Linked DNA regions of Homo sapiens: region 1 is linked to region 2. The links are contacts of gene promoters, found by promoter capture Hi-C in human tissues and cell types (Jung and others, 2019). All regions are on one chromosome and are shown on one strand. The core of a region is centred on a gene start or on the middle of the fragment in contact, and the rest is flanking DNA. Distances in the headings are between cores, read along the strand shown. Region 1 holds the start of NAALADL1 (N-acetylated alpha-linked acidic dipeptidase like 1). Region 2 overlaps POLA2 (DNA polymerase alpha 2, accessory subunit).

Region 1 (2,700 bases), core at 95-2,594, 220 kb before region 2:
TGGTGGGACAACCCGAAAACACCTTGCCTTTCCTGCCCCACCCTGGGGCTTGGTTCCCCACTCAACACTGCCTCTTCTCCTTCCCCTTCCCCTCACTTCCTCCAGTCCACTGCCCAGCCCCTTCCTCACCGAGGCCTCCTGCACTGGGGGACTGCCACTCACCTTGGCCCCACGCCCTACACCCCCATATCGAGTCAGGGCAATGGTGCCTTCAAGTTTGATGCCCTGAGTCTGTAGCTCCTTAAAGTCTTCTTCCGCGCCCCGGTTGGCATAGACGAGGAGGCCCTAGTCCCAAGAGGGGGTGATCCTTAGAGCTGGGCCCAGCGAAGTGTGGGTGGGGAAGGGGGGTGGAAGTTTGCATGGCAGGAGGGAGAATTTAGATTCTGTTCCCCCACCTCACCCAGAGCTTGTAAGCTCCCCAAGAACAGTCACCCCTCATTTCCTCCATGTCTGGGTGCCCTGTAACAGACCTGGCCTTGAGCAGAGCCACTAGTGTTTGTTGAATGACTGATGGAGGAAAGGAGCAGCGATGGAGTGTCCCGGTGAGTAAATTCCGGAGGGCGCGCTGTGCCCCAGTTGAGGCACGTTCCCTGGGTCAGGGTGGGGAGAACCCTGGGTGGAACCAAGGGAGCTGGGCCAGAGCAGTAGGGGGGGTTCTGGGCCCACCTGTGGGGTTCCAGAAGGAGCATAGGCAGCATAGGGTTGTACCACATCTGGCCCCCCTTGCTCCCCGGTCACGTTCTCCTCAGTCCGGTGGCAGGAGTGGATGATGCCCCCAGTGGGGCCCACTGTTGGAGGGGTGGCAGTATCATGGCTGGGCCCAGCAGCTCCCCACCCCCGGGCATTCCCAAGACTGGGCAGGACCTCACCGATGTCCACGACGTTGGGCTGCTCCTGGCTAGGGAAGGACAGCAGCACTTCGTACGTGGAGGCCTCGGCCGAGTCCAGGCCTGACTCTGGGTCCTTCCAGCGCTGCAGCAGCAGCTGCACCAGGTCCTCATCCCGAGGGCTGGAGGCCAGGTGTGGCTCCCTGGAGAGTTCTCTGCAGGGTGGGCAGAGGGAGGGGCAGGGCCAGCATCAGGGAGGGGGCCTCTGGCAAACGGAGGAGCAGATGGCCCCACTTCTCACCTGAGGTTCTCCCGGATCCTGTGGGCATCCAGCTGCCCCATGACGGTCTCCAGGATCTCCAGGTCCAGGTCCTGGGGGGCCAGTGAGTTGGCTTTTTTGGGGATGGCAAAGTGGCCGAGGATGATCCCCAGCCCCAAGAGGGCAGCAGCCCCCAGCCCCAGCCCCAACACCTTCGTCCACTGCATCCTGCGGACTCTTGGCCAGCTGGGGTAGGACTGGTCTATAGGTTATTCCCTATAGAGGGGGTGTTGTGCCTGGTTAAACATTACCCCATGGGTGGCACTGCCCTTTGACCCCCAGCTGGCAGGGAGAGTGAGGGAACATCCCGCAGTGAGAGCCAGGAGCCATCCACATCCACCACATCCTGCACCATTTGCCTGGAATGGCTCTCCAAGGGCAGCAAGGTCACCCAGGGACACTGAAGCCGAGAGGGAAGGGGCTCATCCAGGGTGTCCCAGGAAAACAGAGGCCAAGCCAGGGCTGGAACTCAGAGCTCCTGTGTTCACAGCAGGGCCGTGCCCACTGCCCACCCTCACTGCCTCTGCCTCCCTCCAAGGCAGCCGATCTACAGCATACCCAGCCCTACCTGCCTGAGCAGATTTTGAGTTGAGATCCCCCTTCTTGCTGGACGTAAGCTGTGTGACCTTGGGCAATCCACTCAGCTTCTCTACACCTGTTTTCTTTTTTTTTTTTCTAGACTGTGTCTTCCACTGACACCCAGGCTGGAGTCCAGTGGTGTGATCTCGGCTCACTGCAACCTCCACCTCCCGGGCTCAAGTGATTCTCCTGCATCGGCCTCCCGAGTAGCTGGGATTACGGGTGTGCACCACCATGTCCAGCTAATTTTTGTATTTTTAGTAGAGATGGGGTTTCACCATGTTGGCCAGGCTGGTCTCAAACTCCTGATCTCAGGTGATCACCCGCCTCAGCCTCCCAAAGTGCTGGGATGACAGGAGTGAGCCACCGTGCCGGCTATGGTGTCATTTTCATTAAACAATATGGCATCTGTAGAAATAGCTAGTGCAGTGTCTGACATGTAGTGGGAGCTCATCAATTTTAACTACTCATCCCTCATCTGACTCTGGAAAATGTAAGGCCTAGAGCTAAAGGAAGAAGGAGGACCCAGAAGAACTCTCTGTGTCTATCCTGAAGGGAGCCCAGCGATACGAGGAATGGGAGTCCTGGGAAGGGAGGCTGTCCCAGAGGAGGCAGCAGGGGAAGCCCATGCCTCCCTGGCGAGGTGACTTCCTCTTCTATCCCCTGGCTCTGCCTGGACTCCGTCATCCACCCTCCTATTTATCCATCCACCCATCCCTCCATTCACTTATTCATTCCTTCCTTTATACATGCAAGCACTGTTCATTCTGTGCTATACTAGAGCCATGCAAGGCTGTGGGGAAGCAAAATCCAGCAGGCGAGGCAGACAGGCTTTAGGTTCAGCCATGTGGTAAGTGCCCTGTAGAGGGAGGATCACCATGCTCCCAGTGAAAGAGTGAGGAGTTCTGACTAGGAGGGAACATCTGAGGGGGTCCTCCAAGGCTGAAAAGGTGTTCCAGCATTTGCAAGGGCTGA
Region 2 (2,760 bases), core at 261-2,760:
CTCTCTAGAATGTTTTCTAATCTAAGGGGAAATATATTCTAGAAGTTTCTTTAAAGTACCTTTGTCAATGTTTACATTCAAAGAATGATCAGTTGGGGAAGTGATGCAGAACTGTGTCATAGAAGGAAGTGTTAGAGGACTTGGAAGGAAGTAATTGAGGGAAGGCAGGGAGGCACAATCACTGGGAAAGATGAGACTTCCTCTGTTTTCTCCCAAGAGTGGGAACAGAACAGAGGAAGCCATGGAGACAGAGATTTTAGCTCAATTAATAAAGAACTTCCTGTTAAGAGGTTGTATGGTATGTGGCTAAGGATATGGCTCTAGAGCCAAATTTCTGGTTTCAAACCCAAGCTTCACCCACAGTTTGACCTTGACTAAATTATCTAACCTTTCTGTTGCTTGTTTTCCTCATCTGTAAAATGGATACAGTAATATCCACCCGATGGTTGTTGCAAGGATTAAATGAGTTAATACATATAAAATGCCTAAGAATACATTTTAGAACAGTGCATGGTATTTAGTAAGCTCAAGAAATGTTAGCTATTATTAAGTAGTTATAGCTGCCCAAAGATGCAGTGGGCTGCCCTGGGGTGGTGAGGACAGGGTGGGGTAGGCATCCAGGGGCAAGTTCCCCTACACTAGAGATGCTCACACTTAGGCAGCCTCCTAGGAAGGCTCAAGTGCTGGGTGGATGGGTGGACAAGATGCCCTTTCAGAGTTCTTCCATCCTGAGAGTCAGTGATGACGCGGTAGTCACCTCAGGGTCAAAGCAATGCCCTGCCAAGAAATGTATTTGTTGTTTGCAGTTTGTTTTGCTATTCACCCTATCGACTTCAGATTTTGAGCTCCTGCTCCAAAGACTGTCATTCTTATGCTGTGACCTTCCTTTGGTAGGAGCCTGTCACTCTGCTGGGCCAGATTGGCTGTGATAGCAACGGGAAGCTGAACAACAAGTCAGTGATTCTCGAGGGAGACCGGGAACATTCCTCGGGTGCTCAAATTCCAGTGGATTTATCTGAGCTTAAGGAATATTCTCTGTTTCCTGGACAGGTGAGATTGGAGGAGTTCCACCAGAATGCAGGCGCACTCTTTACCCCTGTAGTGTAGGTGCTGTGCCATGCGCAGCTGCTCCTCAGTTCCTGTCTCTGCTGCCATGGGGTGCAGCTGGAGCACATGCCCCAGAGCAGACACCACTGTTGGGATTCCTGTTTCCCCCATGCTCTGACCCAGGCTCTGGGACCTGACTGCGCAGCCTCAAATCCCAACTCCCCGCTCCATGAGGTGCATGACTGTGCACAAGGTACTTAACCATCTAAACTACAGTTTCTTCACTCACAAAATGGAAATAATAATTCTTACCTCATAGGATTGTTGTGAAAATTAGATCACTTATATAGAGCATAATTATTATTACTAATGCAACGCCCTTAATTCGTTTTCTACAAAAATGCCCTAAGTTTATGATTACAGAATGAGAGTAGTTGGACAATGCTTTTAACTGCCTCAAAATAATGTATTCCAGACCTCATTGATCTCCACTGCTTAGCAATCCTGTTTGTTTTTGTCTTTCAGGTTGTAATTATGGAAGGAATCAACACCACTGGTAGGAAACTTGTTGCCACCAAACTCTACGAGGTACACAGCAGTACCCCCACTTGCCTCTTGGTTTGCTTCAGACAAAGTATGTCTGGAAGCTGTCTGTTCTAGAAACTGGTCCTTTTTAGGAGCCCATTTATTTGTTAGTCAGTTCTCCATCTGTAAGTGGGAACCCACCCCTAGGCCAGGGGTCAGCAAACCCTTTCTATAAAGGGCCAGACAGTAACTCTTTTAGACTTTGTAGCTATATGGTCTCTGTCACAATGACTCAATTCTGCCTTTGTCTACAAAAGCAGCCATAGAGGACTCTTAAACAGATGACTGTGGCTGTGTTCCCATAAAACTTTATTTAAATAGTGGGCTGCAGCCAAATTTGGCCCAGAGGCCGAAAGGTTACCTATCCCTGCTCTAGGCAACAATCCTCCAGAGATTTTCGTAGAATGCCAGGAAAAGTAGCAAGAAACCATTCTCTCCCATCCTTGCCTAGAAGTACACTGATACTTTAGGCACCTGTTTTGCTCCCACTTGTTGCTGGGTATTTTATGACAATTGAGTAGTGACCTCCCATTACCTGGGTTTCTTTGCCCTCTGAGCAGTATAGAAAAATGGCAGGTCCCATCAGATCCAGGGAGCAAGACAGAGGCACATCCTTCCCCTGCCCTCTCGCTCCTCCCCACTGTCCTCCCATCACACACCTGCACCACCCCCAACCTGGTGCCCTCCCCTTTCCTTACCAAGGTGATGCCTGGCGCAAGACCTTACTTGAGCTTTTCCCCTGTTTTTAGGGTGTGCCACTTCCATTTTATCAGCCCACTGAAGAGGATGCAGGTGAGTTTCGGTTCAAATATTGTTTTGCCAACAATGAGGATGGTAGACATGAGTCCAGGAGTGCAGTTTCCCAAGCCCAAGAAAGCTGCAGAAGCTGCTGAAGAGCAATGTGACCAAGCAGTGAGGGCGCCACCATCATGAGTTCGTAGGTTTTTTGTCACAAGACCCCTGGTCTGAGCCCAGTGAGCGTTGGTCGTGCTGTCGCCTGAGTTCTGCCTACATGAAGCATGTTGTTTAAAGACTAATGTTTAACAGGTATTTTTGAAGGTTGCCTTGGAAAGGAAAAGATGTACGATTTCAAAAAGAATTTATTTACATGCAGCATGGGCAGATGCG

The links. The method cuts DNA at HindIII sites, captures the fragments that hold promoters and counts their contacts. A contact is called where the count stands out against the background at its distance.
Region 1: a contact is called between the fragment with the promoter of NAALADL1 here and a fragment that was not itself captured in region 2, in 6 of the 25 tissues and cell types used here (adrenal gland, dorsolateral prefrontal cortex, hippocampus and 3 more).

Annotation. Positions count from the first base shown.
Region 1 is chr11:65,057,209-65,059,908 of GRCh38, forward strand. NAALADL1 (N-acetylated alpha-linked acidic dipeptidase like 1) reads right to left here and starts at 1,345. Exons shown (of 18, transcript NM_005468.3): 1 at 1,129-1,345; 2 at 870-1,042; 3 at 667-788; 4 at 163-285. The coding sequence starts at 1,313. The HindIII fragment of the contact is 22,908 bases long and covers 1-2,700 here.
Region 2 is chr11:65,280,098-65,282,857 of GRCh38, forward strand. It overlaps POLA2 (DNA polymerase alpha 2, accessory subunit), which reads left to right. Exons shown (of 18, transcript NM_002689.4): 8 at 895-1,050; 9 at 1,573-1,635; 10 at 2,382-2,424. Among named protein-coding and RNA genes, the nearest start is that of POLA2, 20 kb to the left of the region's middle. RefSeq lists an enhancer at 1-372. The HindIII fragment of the contact is 6,666 bases long and covers 1-2,760 here.